Regions from separate parts of the Homo sapiens genome. Here region 1 is linked to region 2. The links are contacts of gene promoters, found by promoter capture Hi-C in human tissues and cell types (Jung and others, 2019). All regions are on one chromosome and are shown on one strand. The core of a region is centred on a gene start or on the middle of the fragment in contact, and the rest is flanking DNA. Distances in the headings are between cores, read along the strand shown.

What was found. The method cuts DNA at HindIII sites, captures the fragments that hold promoters and counts their contacts. A contact is called where the count stands out against the background at its distance.
Region 1: a contact is called between a fragment that was not itself captured here and the fragment with the promoter of DCLK2 in region 2, in 1 of the 25 tissues and cell types used here (mesendoderm cells).

Annotation. Positions count from the first base shown.
Region 1 is chr4:150,392,938-150,399,356 of GRCh38, reverse strand. All of the region lies in intron 47 of LRBA (LPS responsive beige-like anchor protein), which reads left to right. Among named protein-coding and RNA genes, the nearest start is that of LRBA-AS1, 180 kb to the left of the region's middle. The HindIII fragment of the contact is 5,133 bases long and covers 1-4,067 here.
Region 2 is chr4:150,075,365-150,082,013 of GRCh38, reverse strand. It overlaps DCLK2 (doublecortin like kinase 2), which reads right to left and starts at 3,569. Exons shown (of 16, transcript NM_001040260.4): 1 at 2,566-3,569. The coding sequence starts at 2,986. The HindIII fragment of the contact is 8,036 bases long and covers 1-5,092 here.

The sequences.
Region 1 (6,419 bases), core at 252-2,751, 320 kb before region 2:
GAACCAACTTTGCCCAAGAATATTGATTAGTAGTTTCTGCCATGGTCACAGGAAAGGAGAATTTAGCATTTTGTGTCTCTGTGTGTCATACCTGAATAAGAGTCTATTGGTGCAAAAGAGCATATCCAATAGTGATATTCATAAAATAAGTGACGCAAAATAGTCCATGCAGGATGGGCACAGTATTTCAATAAAATACAGGTAGTTAAGTAAAGGTAATTTCTAGTTGAGTACATAACTGAGACAGAAAATATGTGCATAGCAATTTTAAGGTATGTTAATAAAAAAGATAAAGAATTTACTAAAATTAAATTGCAAGAATTCTGCAACCATATTTTCTTTGCAATTTAATTTTCTGTATTTTAATTTCTTGGGATATATTTATATTTGGCAGTATAGGATGGAATTTTCAAAAACAATATTGAAAAGGGCTGGGCATGGTGGCTCACACCTGTAAATCCCGGCACTCTGGGAGGCTAAAGCAGAGGATTGCTTGAGCCCAGGAGTTTGAGACCAGCCTGAACAACACAGCAAGACTCTGTCTCTACAAAAAACAAAAAAACTTATCTAGGTGTGGTAGCACATGCCGGTAGTTCCATCTACATGGGAGGCTGATGTGGGATGATCACTTGAGCCCAGTAAGTAGAGGCTGCAGTGAGCTGTGATGGCACTACTACACTCCAGCCTGGGTGACAGAGCAAGACCTTGTCTCAAAAAAAAAAAGAAAGAAAGAAAATTGGAAAACAAGTCTAAAATGTTTAGGTGTAAGATATCCACCTTCATGAATGCCTCTTAATTAATAGTTTCCTCTATTACTTAAGAAATACATTAATTATTCAGAAGTAAAAAATAATTTTTCCTATGAATCGTTTTATACCAAATGCAATAGTTATTTTTCAGTAAAAGCAAAATAATTGTTCTACATAGCATACTAGAAACATTGAGAGCAAAAGTAAGGACCACTTTTTGTCCAGCAGCATTTACTTTTTCATTTTTATGAGCTCGTGAAATCTACCTCTGTCAATTGGCTTATTTTCTTCTGGGCTCCACAGTATTTTTCTTTGAAAGTGTTTTACTGCATTTCCCTTCGGTTAGTCTTATTGATTGTATAGTCAATTTGTAATTGTTTTTTCTAAGTAAAATCTTTCATACATTGTACTTTGTTAGTCCCATGCTTATTTAGATCTGTTCCATTCACCATCTCACATATTTCTATTCCACCAACAGAATGTCTGTGGAGAAAAACTCTTGCCAGGATCTCATGATCCCTTATTTTCTTCTTTCTACTTTTTTTCTGTGCTAGAGAAGATACTAAAATATATATGTAATTATTTTTGTAATGCTCACTGTGCAACATATTTTCAATAGACAAAATTTATATTTCGCTTTGTTTAATGGGATTTTGTTCATTAAACTTTAGATTTTTAGAAGGATAATAAGAGCTGTCGTGCGTTGAACACTTAATAATATGCACCAGACATTGTTGTAAGCCATTTATGGATTAACTCATCTAGGTCTCACAATAAGTTTATGAGGTAAGTGCTATTATTACTCTCAACCTGTAGATTAGAAACTTGAGGCATAGAGAGTTTAGGTAACTTGTGAGTTTAGGTAACTTGTCACAGCAATCATAAATATTGAACTGGGATTCCAGTGCAAGAAACCTGTGTTGTTATACTCTACATTATACTTCCTATGATAAAATTATACTACTGCATATGTTTTAATAAGTTTTAGTTGTACAAATGAGACCATACCTATTTTAAGAATACATTCTTAGGCCTGGCATGGTGGCACATATCTATAATCCCAGTGCTTTGGGAGGCCAAGGGAGGAGGATTGCTTGAGCCTGGGAGTTTGAAGCTAGCTTGGACAACATAGTAAGACCCCATCTCTACAAAAAGTAAAAATATTAGCTGGGCATGGTGTCATGTGCCTGTAGTCCCAGCTACTTGGGAGCCTGAGGCAGAAGGATGCTTGAGCCTGGGAGGCTGAGGCTGCAGCAAACCCTGATTGTGTCACTGCACTCCAGACCAGGCAACAGAGCAAGACCCTGTCTTCAAAAAAGAAAAAAATGAATACCTTTTTGTATCGTACATTGTATGAAAATATGCACTTAATGAGAGGAAAATTACTTTCATTTTTCACTTTTCATCAGAAAAAATATGAAAATTTATTTTATTTTAGAATTCGGAGAAAAGAAAAATTTAGGATATAAAAATGTAGTATATAAGATGTGTTTATGTGTATGATATCTCAATGTAATAAAAACATTACAAGGACATACACCTACTCCAGTGTCTTAAAGCGTCAGTGTTTTTTTGCTTTTCTCTTTCCGTTGCTTTTCAAATGTTTTTAATGATTAGTTATTATTTTTAATAATGGAAATAAATAGTAAATTGTGTTTTGAAAGTGGGAACAAGTGGCAAATAAAGTTTTGTAGTTGTATTAAGATTTCCCAGAGAATCAGAGCCAATAACATCTATATATGTTTATGTGTGTGAGTGTTTGTATAATAAAAGAAACCTATGCCACAGCCATATAGAAAATTCATTGTCCTAATCATTTCCTATTTTTTCTAGACTATAAGTTTATTCATTTCATATGGCACTTGTCAAGTGTCAGTACCTGGGAAAGGCTTGTGAGCAAACATTTTTCATCAATCTCTAATTAGTAAATAAACCAATACATTCGTATTCTACTACTAGTTGATTCTCTAGAGTGATTGAAAAGAATTTTCCCTCAATAGCTTTTCCCTGTAGACTACTATTATGGTTAATTTTATATGCCAGCTTGAGTGGGTTGAGGGATGCCAGGATAAGTGATAAACATTATTTCTGGGAGTACGTGTGTGTGTGTGTGTGTGTGTGTGTGTGAGATGAGATTTATTATGGGAATTGGCATGTGTGATTATGGGGGCTGAGAAGCACCACAGTATGCCATATTCAAGCTAGAGACCCAGAGGCTGGTGGTACAATTCAGCCCAAGTGTGAAGTCTTAAGAACCAGGGGAACCAATGGTGTAACTCCCAGTCTGATGCCAAAGGCCTAAATTCCCAGGAGTAGGGCACTGGTGTAAGTCCCTGAGTCTGAAGACTCACAGACCAGGAGCTCTAATGCCTAAGGGCAAGAGAAGATGGGTGTCTCAACTCAAGGAGTGGGTGGAGGGAATTCATCCTTCTGCTTTTTTATTCTGTTCTGGTACTCATTGGATTGGATGATACCTGCCCATGTTAGTGAGAGTGGATCTTCTTTGTTTAGTGTGCTGATTCAGATGCTAACCTTTTCTGGAAACACCCTCACAGACATTCTCAGAAATAATGTCTTACCAGCTATCTGGGCATCCCGCAGCCCACTCAAGTTGACACAAAATTAATCATCATAATAGTCTACGGGGGAAAGATGCTGAGGGAAATTTTTTTTTCAATTCTAGAGAATCAATTACCAGTAGAATACTGTAGATTGTACTGAAAGATTGTTGGTTTATTTACTAAATAGCAATTGATTAAAAATGTTCACTCAAACCTTTCCCAGACACTGATATTTGACAAGTGCCATATGAAATGAATAAGCTTATAGTATAGGAAAAGATTAAGATAATGGAATTTTTTGTATGGCCATTGCATAGGTTTCTTGGGAAAGAATAGCCAGGGATGAGGCTTGGGAGGTTAAGTTGAGGTCACATTTATGAAGAGGCATTTATACCTTGCTGAGGAGTTGGTACTTTCTCTTACAGACAGCCAGGAACTGCTAAAAAGACATGGGAATGATATAATTATATTTAATTTATTCATTAGGAAGATGGCAGTGTGAGTATCGGACTCAAGCTAGGAAAGAATGGAGACAGGAAAATCAATTAGGAGGCCATAACAGTTAAAGGAAATTAAGCAGGAGATGATGACCTTAGTTAAAACAATGACAGAGAGGACAGAGAAGACATTCTAGATTCTAGAGACATATCAGAGTCATAAAGAACATAAGGGGAAGAAGTTGAAGATAATATTGAGATTTTTAACTAAAGTTACTGCATGAATTGTCATACTAACAATTGAAATAGGCATTACAGAAAGAGGAAAAGATAAGTTCTTTGAGGAAGATAAATTCAGTTTTAGACATGTTACAGTAAATATATTAATATGGAATTTAAATATATTAAGGTAAATAATAGGATAGATGATAATTCTATTATGTACACTTAATCCCATTTTTATCTTCTTTAGTAATAGATAATATTAGCATATAATTGATTGAAGTAATTAGAACATCTTTTCCTAACTCTGCTGGCTCATTTTTACCACAGTAGCCTTTCTTATCTCTTATATGAACTATGGTAATAACGTCCTTCTAGTCTCCCTATCACTTTTTTATACATTTGATACACTGCTGATAAATATATCTTGCAAATGGGCAGTACAATTGTGTTATGCTCCTGCATTTAAGCCATGACTACAAGCATATAATAGTGTTTATTCAGGTACTCACTGGTCTTGGGTGGGATTGTTCCCTACAGACCACCTGCTCCCCACCATCTCACCATGACACCTCTACTACATGTAGATTAAGCTTATAGTATATTATCACAAAAATATTCTGTTTTCAACATTCTATTTTCAAATAACTCTTATACCAAGTGAAGCCTGTGCCATGTAAATTCTACCCATTGGTCCTCATTCTAGCTCTAAGGCTTAAACAAAGCAAATTAAATCTCACTTTAGTCCTGATATGTAAAGACAATAGCCATGCCTGCCAGGTTTTCTTTCTTTCTATGACATCACAGTTGTACTTTGTACTTCTCTTTTAACCCTTTACTCTGCCATTTATTATACTTTCTACCTATTAGCTTTATCCTCCTGTGCCCCCTCCTCCGTTACTTGTAAATAGTGACTTAAACTTAGTAAACTTTCAGTGAATATTTATTGATAGACCTACAACTCTAACTTAAGTACCATAATTAACATATCTAATTAATTTGATCACATATTTTACACTTTTCATATCAACTGCCTCTGTAATTTTATAAAATTTTATGACATATGCATGGTCATGTCTGAATGAATATGCATTCATACTCAGAATATTTGGAGATTAATCCCAGAGCTTCAGTATTAGCTAACTTTTGACCACAGCTGTGTTACTTAACCTCTCTTGGCTGTAAATAGATAATAGATATTTAATACAGGCAGTAGGTTTTAAACATGACAGATTTAGAATAGGAATAATATTGAATGATCACAAGGCCTCTAAGGCAAAGAAATTGTTATGTAAAAGAAGATTAAATCTTCTCTGCTGTGGTAACATAAAATAATGATTGGTAACACTGTTGATGTGGAAATGCATTCAGTAGAGAAAAGTAATAGGTGAGTCCTATTGCTGCATTTCTTACAAGGGCATCTGAAGTTACTTATTACTCTTGTGAAAACATGTTGACCTACTCTTTATGTAAAAGTGTCTGCAATTATAAAGTCAACATTAATAATCTAGCATTGGTTGATAGAATCTGCATTTCAACTCCATAGAAATTAGTGGTTATAGACAACTTGAGATCAATGATGCTATAAAGAAACAAACTATGGACCAAGGGCAGTGGCTCATGCCCATAATCCCAACACTTTGGGAGGCCAAGGTGGGAGGATGACTTCAGGCCAGGAGTTCAAGACCTGCCTGGGAAACATCCCAAGACCCCATCTCTACAAAAAGTTTAAACAATTAGCCAAGTGTAGTGATGCACACCTTTAGTCCCAGCTACTAGGGAGGCTGAGGTGGGAGGATCACTTGAGCCCAGGAGTTTGAGGTTACAGTGTGCTAGGATCATACCACTGCACTATAGCATGGCAACAGAGGGAGACCCTGTCTCTAATAAAAGGAGGGAGGGAGGGAGGGAAAGGGAGGGAAGAGGTGAGGAGAAGGAGGGAAAGAATGAAAGAAATTATGAATGCAGAGTCTAGAATTGTAGAGGTGGGGGGGAGAAAGAGTTTATTATAATGCCTGACCTGCAAGTAGAGAAAAGCATTAAAAAAAAAAAAAGATTTTAGCACATATCTTTCATTGCTTCTGAAAGTCCAGTGTTTCATTCAGCAAATATGTATTGGGGCTAATGTTTGCCAAACATCCTACTTAATTCTGAGAAAATACAAAGATGAATATATATAATCTCTACCCTGTAGGTATTTACCATCTAATAATGGAAATAATTAATCCAGAATGTCGTTAATCAGAGCATAGATAGCAGAGCAACTAAATTTCATTCAGAGAATGAGGATACTTAAGAGACAGTTGAGCTGGGTATTGAAGGATTAGTTTGCCATCTGCTATGGATGGAATCATATTCTCCCCCCTTTTTTTTTTAACTTTAAGTTCTGGGATACATGTACGGAACATGCAGGTTTGTTACATAGGTATACATGTGCCATGGTGGTTCGC
Region 2 (6,649 bases), core at 2,320-4,819:
TTTTTTTTTTTTTTTTGAGACAGAGTCTTGCTCCATCGCCCAGGCTGGAGTGCAGTGGTGTGATCTTGGCTCACTGCAACCTCCGCCTCCTGGGTTCAAGCAATTCTCCTGTCTCAGCCTCCTGAGTAGCTGGGACTGCAGGCGCCTGCCGCCACACCCGGCTAATTTTTTTTTTTTTTTTTTAAGTAGAGATGGGGTTTCACCTTGTTTGTCAGGCTGGTCTCGAACTCCTGACCTCAGGTGATCCACCCACCTCAGTCTCCCAAAGTGCTGAGATTACAGACGTGAACTATTGTACCTATATTTTCTTTAAAAAAAAAATTGCATTGCTATGGAGTATTCTACTAATTTGGGGGAAAACTGAAGAATTAAACAAAGACCCATTGTCAGAGAGAGTTCCATATGACAAAAAAAGTGTCCAAGTTTTCTTCTTTTGCAGTAATTTTATTGTATTAAAAACTTCTTCAAAGAAGTGGGCAAAGTCATAAAAAAAATTTTGGCTGTGCAACTATTTGTTATATTATTTATCATATTTTGGTATGATTTGGACTCCATAGATAATGTTTTTTCCAAATCCCCATCCACTAAAAATCAGTGAATGATTTGAAGGAAATTTGTTAAGTCAATTTGTAGTTGAAACTACAGTTGCAGAAGTAGACCCAGTGGACATGCATGCGGTGGGCGGTAAAAGACGCAATCTATACTAAGTACTCCTATTAATGGACATGCATAATGTCCATCTTATCATCTCTCCTATGAGATTCATGTTTACGTTATGTCAATTTTATGTAGTAAATCCACTGTTAAAATTTCTTTAGAGAAGGATATTAACATTGTTGACTCTTAAGAAACCATACCAGGAACAGTAGTATCCCAATGGCATGTTGAGTAACAAGTGCTTAAGCAAACAGGCATTGCCTTGATCCTGCAAATCTGATCTTGGGTCAGTCAAACAACTGGTTACTCTGTTTTAAAATAGCTAGGCAAATATTGCTTTTAAGTGTTTAACATGATTAAGAAAAGCAACAAGGCCCTTTGAACATTGTATCTTCCTTTTTTACTTATACTCCTCCAGCTATCCCCTTACCTCCTCAAGAAGCCCTTAAAACCAAAACACACAACTGACAGAATGGGTGAAGTCACAAGCACATACATATGTAGACTGAAGAGACAATTTAATTTTGGCTGGGTCGCGTTCTAGGCAGGGCAGCAAAAACTTCTGACTAAATAGACAAACTCAACGACCTTTAGTTTTCCTCCATGTGGCTCCATTAGCTCAGCAGAGGTGAATCGTAGACGAGAAAGTATATGCTGCAGGCACTGTGAGGCAAGGCATGCTGCCTAAGTTTCCTCATCTATAAAATGGGGATAATGCCTTCAGGACAGAAAAGCATGCTGAGATAATATAAGAAAAACATCTGGCTTGATGTTCAGCTTCCTCTCCCTGCCAAGCTATTGCTATGACTACATGGAATGTGCCATTTGCATTAAGAAAGATGCACAAGAGCGGACTGTATGTAAACACGCAGTCAGCACATACCTGGGTTCTGCCTGGTCTTTCTGGATGTTATTTAGAACTGGAAACAGGTTCTTAACCACTGATAATGCCTTTTCTACCTGAAAAGGATGAGGCATACGTATTGCAGGAATTCAAGGATGACCCAACATCCAGCCAAGCAGTCTCTTTGACCGAGGCATGGTTGACACAGCAGAATTACTAATTTTTAATAAGTCCCCACTGCTGAATCCAATGGCCTCTATCATTCTAATTAGGTACTCTTATTAGAGGATAAGGCTGGAGAGATTGACCTTGATTTACCTTTTTTCCAACCAAATGTGGAAAACCCTTTAGCACGGTGATTGTTAACCAGGGTCCCACATTAGAATCACCTGGGGGGGGGGCTTTTGAGACTCCAGACGCCTAACCCACACCCCAAACCCAACCAATTTAATCAGGATATCTGGGGGTTGGGGGATCAGGGTCCCATATTTTTCGAAGTCCCCAGTGTGATCCAAGATGAAGCCAAGGTTGAGACCTGCTGTCTAGGATCATCCCTCTTCACCTCAAGTAACTTCTGCTGCAAGGCAAACTAGGAAAGCCAACCTAGAGCATTTCACAACCACAGCTTCTGACAGCAGTCACAACAGGACCCCGAATACTGGAACATGACAGGAGCCTGCACCAGGGTCCACACCGAGGGTCCAACAGAGCTTATTAGTAGGGGATTACCCAGCTCCCCATGGGAGAACCATTTTCTCAAACAGTTTGCACTTCAATACAAATAAGTTCAACAATCTTAGGAGATGCCACCAGTGCCTAAATTGGCCTGACCATCAGGAAATTTTTTCCTTCTTTAAGAGACAAACCTCTTGGGAAGGAAAGTCAGTGTGTATGTGGGCACCCCACCGGCCCCCACCCCCAGCCAATCTCTAGAGAAGCAGACAGAAGCATCAATTCCCGTGCGGCTTGGAAAGCACCCCGCGGGCTCCCCGCTGCGCCGGCTCACGCCCACTGCACCTGCCGGCGCTCCGCCGCACCTGCCGTGCGGCGCCCTCCCCTCCTACCTTCCAGCAGCTCGTCCAGGCTGGTGACCTTCCGGCTGCCGTCGATGGTGTAGATAGTGCGGACACCCTGGGGCAGGTTCACGTTGTCCGACAGGGAGCGGGTGAGCTCTATGAGGAGCGCATCGAAGGACCGGAAGCGGTCGCTGGAGATGGCAAACACCAGGCCCTTGAAGTAGCGGTCCCCGTTCCGGTAGAAGCGCGCCTTCTTGGCCTTCTTCTCCGAGCTGAGGGCCTGCAGGGTCCGCGTGCGGTAGAAGCTGCAGTGGGCACTGTGCGCCGGACTGGGGATGAGCCCGTTCCCCTTGGGGCCCGAGCTGCTGCTGCCCCCGGAGGAGCTGGGGGCCCCTCTCCGCGACCCCGGCCGCGGCCTTTTGTCCCGTTCCTCAAAGTGCTCCAGCTCGATACTCCTGGTGCTGGCCATCGCGGCTGCTCCGAGGGCGTCCGCAAAAAGACGTTCCGGGCCGACTAAGGGTGCGAGCGCCGGTGCAGGGACGTCTGACTGCGAGGGCCCTTAACGCGCCGGGACACCTGGCTCTGGCATCCCGCCCTCTCCGCGCAGGTGGGGCCGAGGAGCCGCGGAGGAGCCGACCCGCCCGCGCCCTCAGCTAAAAGTGTCCGCAGCGCCGAGCTGCCCAGGTCATTGTCCAGTGCGACTTGCTCCGTGCCTCCCGCCTGCCGGGGAGCCCCACGCCCCCGCAAGCGCCTCCTCCACCCGGCCACGCCTCACAAGTCCCGCTCGGGAGCCGACCGGGAGAGGCAAAGTTGGGCCGCCCGAGGCTCGCGCTGGGCCCGCGGGCGCCCACAAAGCTCGGGCGTCTGCCGAGCGCTCCCGGGAGCGCCGAGGGGAGGAAGGAAGGAAGGGTGGGGCGGGGCGCGGAGCGTGGGAGAGGCCCCCGGGGGAGTCGCGCGGGCCCAGGCCCGGGGTGCAGCGCCGCCGCCTCGGCCGCGCCCGGATCCCGCCCGCCGGGCAGCGCGCGCCGTTCGGGGCTGAGAGGGCCGTGTCTGGCCCCTTCCTTCCCTGGAGCGCGGCCCTAGCGGGAAATAATGCAGCCCGCCTCCCACGCAGCGGTCAGGCCCGGCCCACTGGCAAGCATCCGCGCTCTGGCCTCCCTCCGCCGCCGACAGGCTGTCAGCGCTGGAGGAGGCTTCCCGGCCCCGGGGATGCCAAACCGCGGAGAAGGGGAGGAGGGGGCGGAGGAGGGGGCGGAGGAGGGGGCCGAGCGCCGGCGCGGGAGGAGCAGCTCCTGCGGGTCCCGGGCAGCCCCGCCCGCCTGACGGCTCCTGCCCGGCGCCGCGCGTTAATGGGCGCAGCCGCGACGCGCGCTCCTCCGCCTGGGAAACGTAACCGCGCAGGCCAAAAACTACAAAGGAAGGAGATTCAAGGGCAGGGAGCACATCCCCAGCCAGCATCCCAGTGAGGACCCCAGGCCAAACTACCGCAGAAATCCGAAGCCCAGCATTGACTTGGGGCACACCATTCATTTTTTTTAAAAAAGATTTGTTGCTTTATTAGAAAATCCTTTGAGAAAACAGCCTCCACTGTTTCCATTGCAGATTCGCTAATATGGTACGTTCAGTAACTTTGAATGAATGATGAGAAGTTATTGGGTGGTAGAGGGGGTTATGTAATCAACGAATATTTATCGAGAGCGTACCATGTGTCAGGCATTGTTTCTGTCACTGGGATGCCCTAACAAAGGAAAGAGAGACTCTGCACCCACTCCCCCCGCCCCGCATATTTAATGTTGTCAATTAAAGCTTCTTACCTAAGAGGCCTATCATTTGTGAGCACCCATCATAGTGGAAATCTTAATGCCGTAGTGTCTATTCAACAATAAAAACATCTTTTCCAAGACTTAAGAGAAATACTAGTTACTTGCATTTTGTTATTAGGAAAAATAAAGCTCAAATATGTTTGATCCCAATTTGGCACGTGAAACCTTAGAACATTCAACACCTGGTTTTCTGAGCAGCCCTAGACAGCAATCCAAACTGACCTTTCAGGAAGAAAGGCATAGTTGCTTTTTTTCGGGTTGAACTGAGTCCTGGAAGAGCATGAATAAAAGAAGGTAGAAGCACATGCAACGGTCTAGCATCTGTGAAGTTGGTGCGCCCCACCAAACACACGCACACACACGCATACACACCCTTCATGGCAGCTCCAGAAAGGTCTCCTGCTCGGTGCACAATACTACTCCTAAGGCAGTTCTGGGCATACACCTGGGCATACCTAACTTCCTGCGGGGTTGGGGCATGCTAGGAAGTCAGAGCTGATCTGAGGCTTCAATGTAGTTTTTCTAGAGGAAAATCCTGCAGCATCATTAGGTCCACCACCTTAAAAGGCCTCAACCTAGATCAGTTAAATCAGAATTTCTGGAGACGGGCTTCTCCAACAGTATTTTTTTAAAAGTACCCCTAAGGTATATCCAGAGTTTCCAACCACAGGCTGTAACACCAGGAATCAAATAAATCAGTGCTTCTTCTCAAACTTTAATATATTTACATGTCATAGGGGAATCTCGTTAAAATGCAGATTGCTATTCTGTAGCTCTGGGGTGGAGTTTGAGATTCTGCATTTCTGATGAGCCCCTGGGTAATGCCAATGCTGCTGGTCTTGGTACAAGACTTTGAGAAACAAGAAACTAAATTGCAAATTTATTGAGATAAGTTTCCATCTAAGTACCAGTAACTCCACAGAGCCCATCAACTTGCCTTAAGATGGCCATGTTCATTTGTATCACTGTTAGTATTTCTTAGGGGGAAAAAGACTTTGTAAACTATTGCTGTAGAAACAAATTATCCTAAACTTAATGATTTACAACAATAAACATGCATAATCTCAGCATTTTTGGCAGATCGGAAATCTGGGAGCAGTTTACCTCAAAGCCTCATGTGATTGCTGTCAAGATGTTGACAGGGGTCACAGCCATCTAAAGGCTTGACTGGGTCAAGAAGATCCATTTCCAAGACAGCCCATTCACATGAATGGTAAGGAGGCCTCAGTTCCTTGTCATGAGTACCTTTCCATAGAGTTGCTTAAGTGTCACCATGACTTGTCGGTTGGCTTCCTCTAGAGCAGGGGTGTCCAATCTTTTGGCTTCCCTGGGGCACATTGGAAGAAGAATTGTCTTGGGCCACACAGGAAATACACTAACATTAATGATGGCTGATGAGCTAAAAAAAAAAAAAAAATCACAAAATCTCATAATATTTTAAGAAAGTTTACGAATTTGCATTGGGCTGCATTCATAACTGTCCTGGGCTGTGTACAGTCCACAGGCCATGGGTTGGACAAGCTTGCTCTAGAGAAAGCATCCAAGAGAGCACAAGGTGGAAGCCACAATGTGTGTTATGATATAGCCTTGGAAGTCATACACTGTTATTCCCACAATATCCTGTAGGTTACACAAGGCAGCCCTGTTTGATGTGGGAGGAGACTACACTAGGGTGTGACTAGGAGTCAGCAATTATTGGGGTCATCTTGCAGACTGGTACCACGGGTTTCAATCTTTCAATCTTTAGAACACTAACATGCACTTCCTCACTCAAAGATCCTTGATAAGAGATTTGGCCCTTCTTAAATAGTGAGTACAATTATACAATATGCCAGTATTTTTAACTCAAGGTGGATTAAAGACTTAAATGTAAAACCCCAAACCATAAAAACCCTAGAAGAAAACCTAGGCAATATCATTCAGGACATAGGGATGAGTGAGGACTTCATGGTGAAAACACCAAAAGCAATTGCGACAAACGCCAAAATTGACAAATGGAAATAAAGAGCTTCTGCACAGCAAAAGAAACTATCACCAAAGTAAACAGTCAACCTACAGAATGGGAGAAAATTTTTGCAGTCTACCCATCAGACAAAGGTCTAATATCCAGAATTTACAAGGAACTTAAACAAATTTACAAGGAAAGAAACAACCCCATCAAAAAGTGGGCAAAGGATATAAACAGACATTTTTCAAAAGAAGACATTTACATAGCTAACAGACATATGAAAAAAAGCTCAACATCGCTGATCATCAGAGAAATGCAAATCAAAACCTCAATGAGATATCATTTCATGGCAGTCAAAATG